Linked DNA regions of Homo sapiens: all the other regions are linked to region 1. Evidence: promoter capture Hi-C in 16 types of primary human blood cells and fetal thymus (Javierre and others, 2016). All regions are on one chromosome and are shown on one strand. Each heading gives the region's core, a stretch centred on a gene start or on the middle of the fragment in contact. The rest is flanking DNA. Distances are from core to core; before and after follow the strand shown.

Region 1 (3,857 bases), core at 457-2,956:
ACTCTTTGATTCCAGATCTAAAACCTGAGTCTAAATAATTTGGATTATGGACATCCTAGAAAAATGCAAATTAACAAACATGTACAGGAATTCTTTATAGAATTTCAGGGGGTTTGTGATGTCCCTTATGCCCATAAGGGCATTGGTCTACAGACAGTACACCAATGACCGAGAATTCCTATTTTGGAAAACTTAAATTCTGGCTCACTTCCTTCACATCACGGCTAAGTTCATATTCTTGTTGCTTTTGATCTACAGAAATCCAAAACGGAATATCCAAAATTGCCTCATAATACTTAGCGCTTATGTTTCCCCCCTCCAAGGCTGCAGGCGCGTAATTTCATACACACGACCAGAAGGAAGTATGTTGGATGGAACCTGCAATCATCCTTCACTGCAGGTTCTTGGGGTCAGAATTCAAGGCCGTGTTTGTTAAACATGTAAATGAAACTCCAAGAACCGGGAGGTGGGGGCGGAGTAACAACCCTTTTCAGGAGGGAATCCTACACTCGAAACTGACAAACCCTGCCAGACCAAATTTTAGTCAGGCTACTACACCTTCAGCTAGGCCCATCTGTACACTTCACTGTAAAATCTGGCTATAGCAAAGAACTATTCTAAGTCAGTTTAGCAAGACCCTTTCGCCTCCGTATCTTCATCCTCCACCGTCCCCCAGGTCTCTCTCTCCAGAAATAATCCTGTTAGGTGCGTTTAGTCAGAATCTTCCTTAACCCAGACATTTCCTCTTAGTAATTTCTCATCCAGTGATCCCTAACCTTCTTGGCTATAAATTCCCACTTGTTCATGCTGAATTCGGAGTTGAGCCCAATGTCTGTTACCCACTGCAAAATCTCACAGCCGGGATCCCAATACCTACCACCATGGTCCTGAATAAAGGGTTCTTTGCATGCTTTAACAAGTGTCACTGAATACTTTTTTATTTAACAGAATCTATCATACCTTTCTTAAGGGCAATTACTCTTCTAAGCTTCTCATCCTATCTGTTTCTTCTCACTGGAAATCTTCATCTAAGACTCAGTATCTGATTTCCCATTGGGACCATTTCTCTGTTGTAGTCGTACTAGGCTGAGGAAGGCACAGGAAGCAGCAGGGAACCTGGAGCCAAGGGTCAATAGACCCCACAGAGCCCAGCGAAGCACGCTTTACAAAGGACACACACGGCATGTACAGGTCACACAAGGTCGACTACGCACCCCTCACAGTCCCGCAACTGCACCCACGTCACACAGGCAAGCCGGTCCTGTCGCCGCTGCGCGGTCTCTCACGCTCCCCGCCTGTCTCCTAGAGACGGGCCCCTCCTCCGCAGCTCCAGCACCCTAGGGCCTGAGGAGGCGGGAGACTCGCCCGGCCCGCCTGGGGGCCTCCGCGCTCTGAGCGCCTCCTGCAGCCCCACTCTCACCGCCACGCAGGGTACCACGCGGGCGGCGGGCTGGGGCTGCAGAGGCTCCCGCAGTGACCTGCGCCGCCTTCTTCAGGTGGAACCAAAAGGTCCCGGAACCGGAGCCAGGGGTCCAAGTTTTCTCCGTTGCCTTTGTAATATGTAGTCCAAGCCAGAACAGTCAGGACCGCAGGTACCGGTGAGAAATGGAGTCCAGAATCCTAAAAACCTACGAGAAATACGGCAGCGACCACTTGGACCGCGCCTCCCACCCACCGCTCGAGCCCCGGAGACTTCTGGGAGTGGCCGCCTTGCCTCGAGTGCGCATGCGCAGATCGGCCACTACTGGGCCCCTGGCCTGAGGCTTAGGGTGGAGTTAGTGCGTTCTTAGGGCCAGTAGGAGGCGAGTCTGAGTAGAAACTGATCCAGGTAGCCTCGGAAGGGATCACCTGCTGGATGGGTGTGAGCTCCTCAGGGTGGGGCGCCGAAACCCTCATGGCTCCTGAGGTAGAGCCGGCCTCCTTGGTAACACATGGGACTGGGACTTTTAATACCACCCGACAGGCCCAGCTTGTCTCGTCAAGCGCTAAGTAAATGGACTCACGTCCTATATGAGGGTTTGAAGTTCCATCACATTCTTCAATACATGACATTATGTTCTTCATCTTTGGACACGAATATATTTGACTAAAAATTTGACTAAAAAATCATCTGAAGAAATAACTGCTAAATAGTTTTATTATTTTTGTTCTGGAATAGGCTTCTTGAAGATAAAATAAGAAATTTAAAAAATTTTTTTGATCCTTCATGTAATACTTTGTAAATCTTCATAGTTATTTAGAAGCATCCAAAATTTCCAAATGGTAAAAAACGAATAAGAAAAATTTTTAGGTAAGTAAATTTGGGGGAAATATTTACAACAGCTAAAACGGACAAATATTTAATAGTCCGAATTTCCTGTTTCTTTGGCTTAATAAAATATTGATGAATACAGGCTGGGCACGGTGGCTCACGCCTTTAATCCCAGCATTTTCGGAGGCCAAGGCAGGAGGATCAGTTGAGGCCAGAAGTTCAAAACCAGCCTAAGAAACATAGTGAGACACCCCTCTCCTCCTCCCAAACTCTACCAAAAATGAAAGTTAGCCTGGTGTGGTGGCACACGCCTGTGGGCCCAGCTATTCCAAAGACAAAGGTAGGAGGATCAGTTGAGCCCGGAAGTTCAGGCTTCAGTGAGGTATGATGGTGTCACCGCACTCTGGCCTGAGCAACAGAGCAAGACCTTGTCTCAAAAAATAAATAAGTAAAATTAATTTAAAAATAAAAAATATTTGTCTATACCCTAAGAGGAAAAGGAACAAAACTAAAAAATCACCATTCAAAAATACAAATAGTCAAGGAAAAAAAACTATTAAAGTTACAATTTAAGAACTTATTGATCACTTTTTCTTCTCTTAATTAGTTCTTGGATTTGTTGCTCCTGAATCTCCTGAATAATCTCTCAGAAATACCACACATAGATCAATGGATTAAATTGACTCCACATATTATTTTCTTTTTCTTTTTTCTCTTTTTGAGACGGAGTTTTGCTCTAGTTGCCCAGGCTGGAGTGCAATGGCACGATCTTGGCTCACTGCAACCTCCACCTCCCAGGTTCAAGCGATTTTCCTGCCTCAGCCTCCTGAGTAGCTGGAATTACAGGCATGCATCACCATGCCCAGCTAATTTTGTATTTTTAGTAGAGACAGGGTTTTACCATGTTGGTCAGGCTGGTCTCGAACTCCCAACCTCAGATGATCTGCCCGCCTTGGCCTCCCAAAGTGCTGGGATTATAGGCATGAGCTACTGCGCCCGGCTCCACATACTATTTTCAACAAGGATACCAAGGCATTTTAAGGAAGGGAAGAGTAGTCTTTGTTGAAAAGACTGGAATTAGAGATGCACATAGAAAGGAATGAATTGAGTTCCCTGCCTCTCACCATATACAAAATCAACTCAAAATGGATCAAACACCTAGGTGTAAGACTTAAAACAGTAGAACATTTAGAAGGAAATGTAGGCATAAATCTTCTGGACTTTATAGTCAGCAATTGTTTCTTAACCGTGACATCAGAATCACAAGCAACAACATCAAAAAAGGAAATTGGACATAAATTGTAAAACATTGTGCTTCAAAACCCACCAAGAATGTGAGAAGCTACCCAAAGAGTGAGAAAAATTGTTTGTAAATTATGTATCCAATAAGGGATTTGTATCTAGAATATATAAAGAAGTCTTGCAACTCAATAATAAAAAGCCCAACAAAAATGGGCAAAGTAACTGAATAAGCATTTCTCAAAAAAAAAAAAAAAGTATACACATGGCTACTAAATACTTGAAAACATGTTCTATATTAATCATTAAGAATATGCAAATCAGCCAGGAGCAGTGGCTCATGCCTGTAATCTCAGCACTTTGGGAG
Region 2 (3,857 bases), core at 477-2,976, 1.3 Mb before region 1:
CAAAAATTAGCTGGGTGTGGTGGTGCAGGCCTGTAATCCCAGCTACTTGGGAGGCTGAGGTATAAGAATCGCTTGAACCACGGAAAGGGAGGTTGCAGTGAGCTGAGATTGTGCCACTGCACTCCAACCTGGGTGACAGAGCAAGACCCTGTCTCAAAAAAAAAAAAAAAAAAAAAAAAAAAGAATTCCTGTTTTAGACTATTTAAGCATCTGATCTGGCTCATTTATTTTTTACTAGGAAATACTCACCACAATTGGCTTAGTATTTTCATTTTCCCCCCATCTATAGAAGGCTGATGTAGAATTGCTCCAAATCACTACTTAAGAATACATAACTAAGGTTTATTAAGTACTAACGAGGTCTCAGGAACTGTTCTAAGAACTTTACACATAGTAATTAAAAGAAGGCCCACAGAAGTAATGAAAAACATCTACCAAATGGGTATGTGCATACAGGCTCTCGGGAGGGGACCTAGGTATCAGCTCAATGGACAGGACATTTATGGAGAATGAAACAAATATTCTCATGTCCTAAGAAATAAGAATGCATTTCACAGAAGAAAGCAGAAACACCCACTCGCCTCGACCTTGACTTAAACAGGCAACAGCAATTCATTCCTCCTCCCGCTCGGACCCCTTTTCTTAAAGAATTGGGCAGGACTGGCTAATAAGGGAACCAGGCTTTTCTTGCAGCCCAGCCTCGCATAGGGCACAATGCCCCCACCGCCCACCCACACATAACCAGAGTAACATAAGAGAGATGGTGTTGTTAACTCTTCCCAGTATCAAAGAAAGGCCAGGGTCATGGATGCCCGGGGCTAGAACTGGAGTTCACAATAGCTTCCTGGAAGCAATGCTGTGGTTCTGAAACCTGCAGCTGGACTCTTCAGAGTTGTGAGTGCACGTGCGTGGGTCCGGGTCCGCGAGGAGGTGGTGTGGGAGTCCCTTCCAGGAGCAAGCCTGGGCGGGAGCGGGGGCTCGTTCAGTTCTAATATTCCTATCCCAAGGTCGGGTCTGAGCCTTGTTTCGCTGTTGCCCAGGCTGGAGAGTAGTGGTGCTATCATAGCTCGCTGCAGCCTCAATCTCCTCCTAGGCTCAAGCCATCCTCCCGCCTCAGCCTCTCGAGTGGCTGGGACCACAGGAGCACGCCATCACACCCGGCTCATTTTTTAAATTTCTGGTACAGATGGGAGTTTCGCTTTGCTGCCCAGGCTGGTCTCGAACTCCTGGCTTCCAGCGATCCTCCCGCCTCGCTCTCCCAGAGCTCTGGGATTACAGATGTGAGCCACCTGGTCCGGCCTAGTCTGCGCGTTTCTGCTGGGAGTCTTTGGCGTGCAGAAACTGACCGAGGGCCATTTCTCTGCAGCTGGGCCCGGTGTGGGCAGAGGATGCTGGGGTCAGTCACGCACTCCACGGCCACAACAACCTTCGCTCATACAATAGTCTCTGCACCCAAGTCAGCCGCACAGACTCCGTCACGTCCCAGCCCCGGCCCCGTCACGCCCACGACACACACACCCGGGCCTGAGGCGCGGGCTCCCGCCCCTCTGCGATACTGCAGTGGCCCCGCTTACCTCTCTTTACCCCCTGGGCCGCAGCGCTTTTCCTACAGATTACCAGGACCGACGCTCCGGGCCAGGACTGCTCACTCGGGGCGCGAACCCGAGGCACAGCGATGCCCGAACGGAGGAAGCCGCTGCCGGGTCACGCCACAATCCCCGGGGCCTAACGGGCTGCGCGCGGAGGCTGCTGGGAGGGCCGGGCGCGCTCACGGAGTGCGCAGGCGCGGCCAGTCTCAAGGGTCCGCTCGCTGGTGCAGCCCCTGCTCTGCGTGAACCCGGAGCCGGAGCTAGGTCCGTCCCAGCGAGGCTGCGCTTCGAGTCCCTTAGCGCCTGGGGACGGCGCGGCAGGGCCTGGAGGGGAGCGGGGACAGATGGCTGGCGCGTTAAAGAGGGGCGCCCGCGACCGCCTCTCTATAGTGCCAACTAGGGAGCCCTGTGAGCGAGGACGGCGCTGCGAGTCTGTCCCTGGCGCGCTCCTGGGTGGGATTCTTTCACTGGGTGTGGCTGTTGGGATTTGAGACCGTGTGACTCCGGAGATTCGGGGAAGCCAGTTCCTATATTTTCCATTTCTGTATTTTTAAATGGTAAAAACAATGAAAAGGAGAACAATATTTTGTGAAATATGAAAATCATACATGTCAAATTTCAGTGTCCATAAATAAAAGTTTTATTGGAACATAGCCGTGTTTGATTGTGTACTGTCTATTGCTATATTTGAGCTACAAGGACAGACTCGAGTAGTTACACAGACCAGATGGCCCACGCAGCCTAAAATACAGTCAGTTCTCACTATTCACAGTAGTTATGGTCTATAAACTTGCTACAAACACGGAATTAGTGAATACCATTCCACTGCTTCTAGGGGAAATACAGGGTTAGTTTCCTGTAAGCATCTGGTCACATTTTAGTCAACCGATGAATGCATAAGCTTATTTTATTGTGTTTATTTTCTTTTTTTCTTTTTTTTTTTTTTTTTTGAGATAGGGTCTTGCTCTGTCACCCAGGCTGGAGTGCAGTGGTGGGATCTTGGCTCACTGCAACCTCCTCCGCCTCCCGGGTTCCAGCAATTCTCCTGCCTCAGCCCCCAGAGTAGCTGGGAATACAGATGCATGTCACCATGCCCAGCTGATTTTTGTATTTTGTAGAAACGGAGTTTCACCATGTTGACCAGGCTGGTCTCAAACTCCTGACCTCAGGTGATCCACCCGCCTTGGCCTCCCAAAAGTGCTGGGATTATAGGCATGAGCCACCGCGCCTGGCCTTATTGTGTTTCTATTTAAACACTTTAATATATATTATTGATTCATTAACATTGAACTCATGGCCAACAGCTCCATAACTCATGCCTGAATGAAGCTTATCTAACACATGTATTTTTTCTGTAAGACACATGACCGCTTTCTCATTCATAGGAACATCAACAGCACTTTAGTACTACTACATTTGGGGTCCCTTTGAAACAGCAAAATCACCAGCAAAAAACAAAAATATGAGAAGCCAAGGTACTAAATGGACTGCAAAAAGGGTACCTGTTTACAGTATGAGAGCTGAAATAAGAAGATAGAGGGTCACTTTGTTTGACTTTGGCTGAGAACATGCCTGTTAAGGGACTCAAAAAGGTTCACCGCTCTTCGGATGTCCACAAATGACCACAAAGGTGCTGCAAATATTGACTCTGGGTTTATAAAAAAGTTTTAGCAAGTAGATGAATTCACAAATTCAGAATCTGTGAATGAAGATTGACTGTATTTACTATCAGGCCCTTTAAAGAAAAAGTTTGCCAATCCCTGTTTTTATATGTCCCTCTTAGTTATACAGCTAGTGTTTAAAAACTACTTGAAATAATTATTTTCCCTGTGCCACCAATTATGTCTATAATTGATTGTACCCCATTAAATAAGCACAAAGAAAAAAGAAAGCTTTCTTTATAGAAGAAGGCCAGCTAATAACTATCAAGGGTTTGATTTTACGTGGCTTAGACACGCTGCTTCAAATGCATTTAAGATGTTTGGTTTTAACAAGGATTTTGCAACAGTATAGTGTTTTCCTTAAGTTCAATGTCATTTCTATGTCATGGCAGCTGTCACCTGCAGTTAGGTAAGACAGTGACATCATTAACATGGATGCATTTTCATGGCATGAAGGCTAGCCATTGATGGGGTAATATAACACAATTTATCAGTAAACGCTGAGTTTTCTTTGAAGTCAGTCTCTGATTTCTTACAGTGCTTGATGTCTGCCTTGCCTGCTAGTGACCAATTCCCCTGCGTCTTTACAGAGCCTTGTTACTCACTC
Region 3 (3,857 bases), core at 703-3,202, 1.1 Mb before region 1:
GAAGGAGATCTGTCTTCATAATGTCATCAGTAACTGGGAAGAGAAGGACTAGAGACCAGGTAAATAGATAAGTCACTATTTGGTGAGCATTTCAAATGAAGTTATTCCACATCCTGAAAAACAAAAATGCATTTCATAAAACAAAGAAAAAAATCAAAATGACCTCCAGCTTTGCTTTAAAATGTGCAACTACAATGCTTTTCTTCTCTCAGAGCTCTTCTCTTGGAATACAGCAAAATGTGGAAAGAAAGGGAATCACAATATACTCAGCCTTTCTTGGAGCCCAGACAGGCTAAATAAGAACACATTCTTCACCACCGGCAAGCTTCCATAACCCATGCTGAATATGACCAGATGGAAGTATGAGAAAGACTGGAATATTGTTGACTCTTCCCTTCATAAAGAAAAGTCAGGTTCACCAAAGCCTGGGACTGAAATGTTTCTGTATTCACAATAATTTCCTTTAGACAGCTATGAAAATGCTGTGGATCTGCAATATTCAACTTGCCCCCACAGAGCTTCCAAAAGGGATCTTTTGGCTAGGCACGGTGGCTCACGCCTGTAATCCCAGCACTTTGGGAAGCCGAGGCGGGTGGATCACCTGAGGTCAGGAGTTCGAGACCAGTCTGACCAACATGGTGAAACCCCGTCTCTACTAAAAATACAAAAATGAGCCGGGCATGGTGGTGCATGCCTGTAATCCCAGCTACTCGGGAGGCTGAGGCAGGAGAATTGCTTGAACCCGGAAGGCGGAGGTTGCAATGAGCCGAGATTGCGCCACTGCACTCCAGCCTGGGCAACAAGAGCAAAACTCCATCTCACACACACACACAAAATCTTTGGAGAAACGAATCCTACTCCTGGGGCCTCAATATCATATCTTCCCAGAACCTTGCCTTGGGAGCAATTCCAGCTCTAACATCTCCATATCAAACACGAGGCTGTGCATATCAGAACACAGCCTTGTCCATGTGAAACACAAGGCTGTGCTTTTTCAGTTGGAAACTTCATTCTGGATCTCAAATATCCAACTTTCTTTTCGATAGCCATTTGACTGCACACTGTGCAACGTGGTTATAAGGTGAAATGACTGAGGCAGTGAAAGAAATCCCAGTATAACAAACTCCAAGAAACCACGTAACTTAAAATTGGCCCCAGAGGTTGGCGAGGCTGCATGCCACTGTGTATTATGCATTATGAAAGCGACAGGGGCCATGCTTTAGAACAGAAGGTCTCAGAGTCTTCACAGACACAGATCGAGCCATACGGGGACCTTGTCCACGTATTCCTGAGCCCCAGAACTGCAGAAATCAAACTCTACAAAAGCTGCACCAGGCCAGTTTTGATCACAGTCTCCAGTGGGTCACAACAGCGCTGTCACAGGATCACTGATAACAGCATGACACATTCATAGTCACCGCTCAGCGCCGTCACACAAACGGCCCCGCCCCCACTCAGTCCCGCGGGCCCAATCGGGGACAGTCAGGGCTGTCCCGGGCTGTGCACCTGCTGTGCACACACACCCCCTGCTGTGCACACCCCCCGCCCCCCCGGGACCATCACAGGCGCGCCCACTCACACCACCACACACGGACGCAGCCACAGAACGGCACACACAAACACAATCACACAGTCTCCCTCCCCAGCAGGTGACTTGCACACAGGCCTGGGGCTTCTGCCTCCACAAACCCTCTCCGCGTCCCATGAACCCAGGTCCCCTGCCGTGAGCTCTTCTCGCATCCAGACCCGGGTCACCTCAACTCACCACATGGAAAACGAACACCAGGTCAACGGAAAAGGGAGCCGGGGTCCTGGCAGAAGCGTAGTGCCAGCCGCAATAGGGCGGCCGTGGGTGCAAACGGAGGGGAGCGCCGGCAGCTAGCACCGCGCGGCGACTAACGGGCCGCCCCGGAGACTCCTGGGAGCTCAGGCCCACGCGCGAGTGCGCAGGCGCAGACGACTCACCCTGGGCCGGGGGTGAGGCTTGGTGGGTGCCAGGGGTGCTGAGGAGGCCAAGGAGGGCACTGGGAGCTCCGTTCCGGGAGAGCTGTCTAAGGACGCGGAACCGGGTGGGGAGGCCAGGGAGGTAACCAAGAGTCCGAGCCGGGCCTGGAAATTCTGAGGAGGAAACCGGGACCGCGGTATCCAGACGCTCCGATCTGTACGAGCCGGGCCTCGGGCGTGGTCCATGGGCGTGACCTTGAGGGTGACCCGGAGCGAGCTCCGCGAAGGGGGATTTTGCCCGTTCTGATCCCGCGGAAGCGCCATCGCTGGCGGCGGGTCCCCGCGCGGAGCGGGCGCTGTGTGTTCGCGCGCGCGGGCGCGCGCTGAATAGGGGTGGCCTCCTGCGCCCAACCTGCTGCATTTTAGGTGCTTGCCTCTCTTTGGGATGTTGTGGCCGATTGTGTGTGAAAAGTGAACGGAGTAGTGTTGCTGCGCGAGGTTTCCTCTGCGTGTGTCTATTTTTAGATTAGGTGTGAGTCGCATTTGAGACTGCCTTTGAGTGTGGAGAATTGCAAGTGATTTGTAGGTGTGGTTGTGACTGCCTGGAGTCGTGTTAGCTGCTGTCTGAGGTTGTGAATGACAAGTGGGGCCTGTAGGTTGGTGGTTCTCTGAAGGATGTTTGATTGACTGTGACTCTGCATGTGTTTGTAACCTACTGTTACTTCTGGTGGTTTTGTGGCCTTAGTGACCTAAATATTTGAATGATTGAGGAACTCTGTTATGACCATGGCTAGTTGGTTATGTAAGACTTGATTATCTGAATAGTAGCCATTAAGCCTGCCTCCAAAACTGTAACTAAGTAGCAATTTAGCAAATAAAATAGAGATAACAGTATCAGAGGGGAAGAGATGATTTTCATAATTCCCAGATTCATTTCCTGGAAACACCATATTAACTAAAACCAGTATGTTGAAATGAATAGCATTCCATTGGGGACATGCAGGAAATTTTTTTTTTTTTTTTTTTTTTACCATAACTACCACTTTTGTTGTTGTTTTTTGTTTGTTTTAAGACAAGGTCTTGCTCTTTTGCCCAGGCTGGAGTGTAGTGGCATGATCTCTGCTCACTGCCACCTCTACCTCTGAAGTTCAAGTGATTCTCCTGCCCCAGCTTCCTGAGTAGCTGGGACTACAGGCTTGTGCCACCACGCTCGGCTAGTTTTTGTATTTTTAGTAGAGATGGGGTTTCACCATGTTGCCCAGGCTGGTCTTGAACTCCTGACCTCAAGTGATCCCCTCCCCCCGCCCCCTCGGCCTGCCAAAGTACTGGGATTACAGGTGTGAGCCACTGTGCCTGGCATAACTACCACTTTCAACACTTGTATATGAGTGAGGTTTCCTACTCCCTTAGGCTTGCTAAGATAATAAAAAGTATTTGATAGATTTTTAATAAGTCCAGTCTCACTGTAGTAATTAAAATAGTTATTTTGCGGGCCTGGTGCAGTGACTGATGCCTGTAATCCCAGCATTTTGGGAGGCCAAGGTGGGCAGATCACCTGAGATCGAGAATTCGAGACCAGCCTGACCAACATGGAGAAACCCCATCTCTACTAAAAATACAAAATTAGCCGGGCATGGTGGTGCATGCCTGTAATCCCAGCTACTCAGGAGGCTGAGGCAGGAGAATCGCTTGAACCCGGGAGGTGGAGGTTGCGGTCAGTCAAGATTGTACCATTGCACTCCAGCCTGGGCAACAAGAGTGAAACTCTGTCTCAAAAAAAAAAAAAAAAAAGATTATTCTCAACTACAACATAGACCAGATAGGCAAAGATTTAAAAGTTGTCAACTGTCTTCATCAGGGCTTGGGAAGGTATTCTCATCCACTACTATCAGTGTAAATTGGCAAAAAGTCCA

Evidence for each region. Contacts are between HindIII fragments. The CHiCAGO score rates a contact against its expected background, and 5 or more counts as called.
Region 2: a contact is called between the fragment with the promoter of ZFP82 here and the fragment with the promoter of ZNF607 in region 1, in 1 of 17 cell types (M1 macrophages). The highest score is 5.2, in M1 macrophages.
Region 3: a contact is called between the fragment with the promoter of ZNF382 here and the fragment with the promoter of ZNF607 in region 1, in 4 of 17 cell types (naive B cells, non-activated CD4 T cells, activated CD4 T cells and 1 more). The highest score is 5.8, in naive B cells.

Annotation. Positions count from the first base shown.
Region 1 is chr19:37,718,055-37,721,911 of GRCh38, forward strand. It overlaps ZNF607 (zinc finger protein 607), which reads right to left and starts at 1,707. Exons shown (of 5, transcript NM_032689.5): 1 at 1,215-1,707. RefSeq lists silencers at 1,209-1,298, 1,359-1,468. The HindIII fragment of the contact is 3,190 bases long and covers 987-3,857 here.
Region 2 is chr19:36,416,918-36,420,774 of GRCh38, forward strand. It overlaps ZFP82 (ZFP82 zinc finger protein), which reads right to left and starts at 1,727. Exons shown (of 5, transcript NM_133466.4): 1 at 1,575-1,727. RefSeq lists an enhancer at 1,096-1,255. The HindIII fragment of the contact is 3,270 bases long and covers 1-2,488 here.
Region 3 is chr19:36,603,361-36,607,217 of GRCh38, forward strand. ZNF382 (zinc finger protein 382) reads left to right here and starts at 1,953. Exons shown (of 5, transcript NM_032825.5): 1 at 1,953-1,987. It also overlaps a transcript of ZNF529 not described here. RefSeq lists enhancers at 1,225-1,364, 2,345-2,404 and a silencer at 1,925-1,984. The HindIII fragment of the contact is 5,073 bases long and covers 324-3,857 here.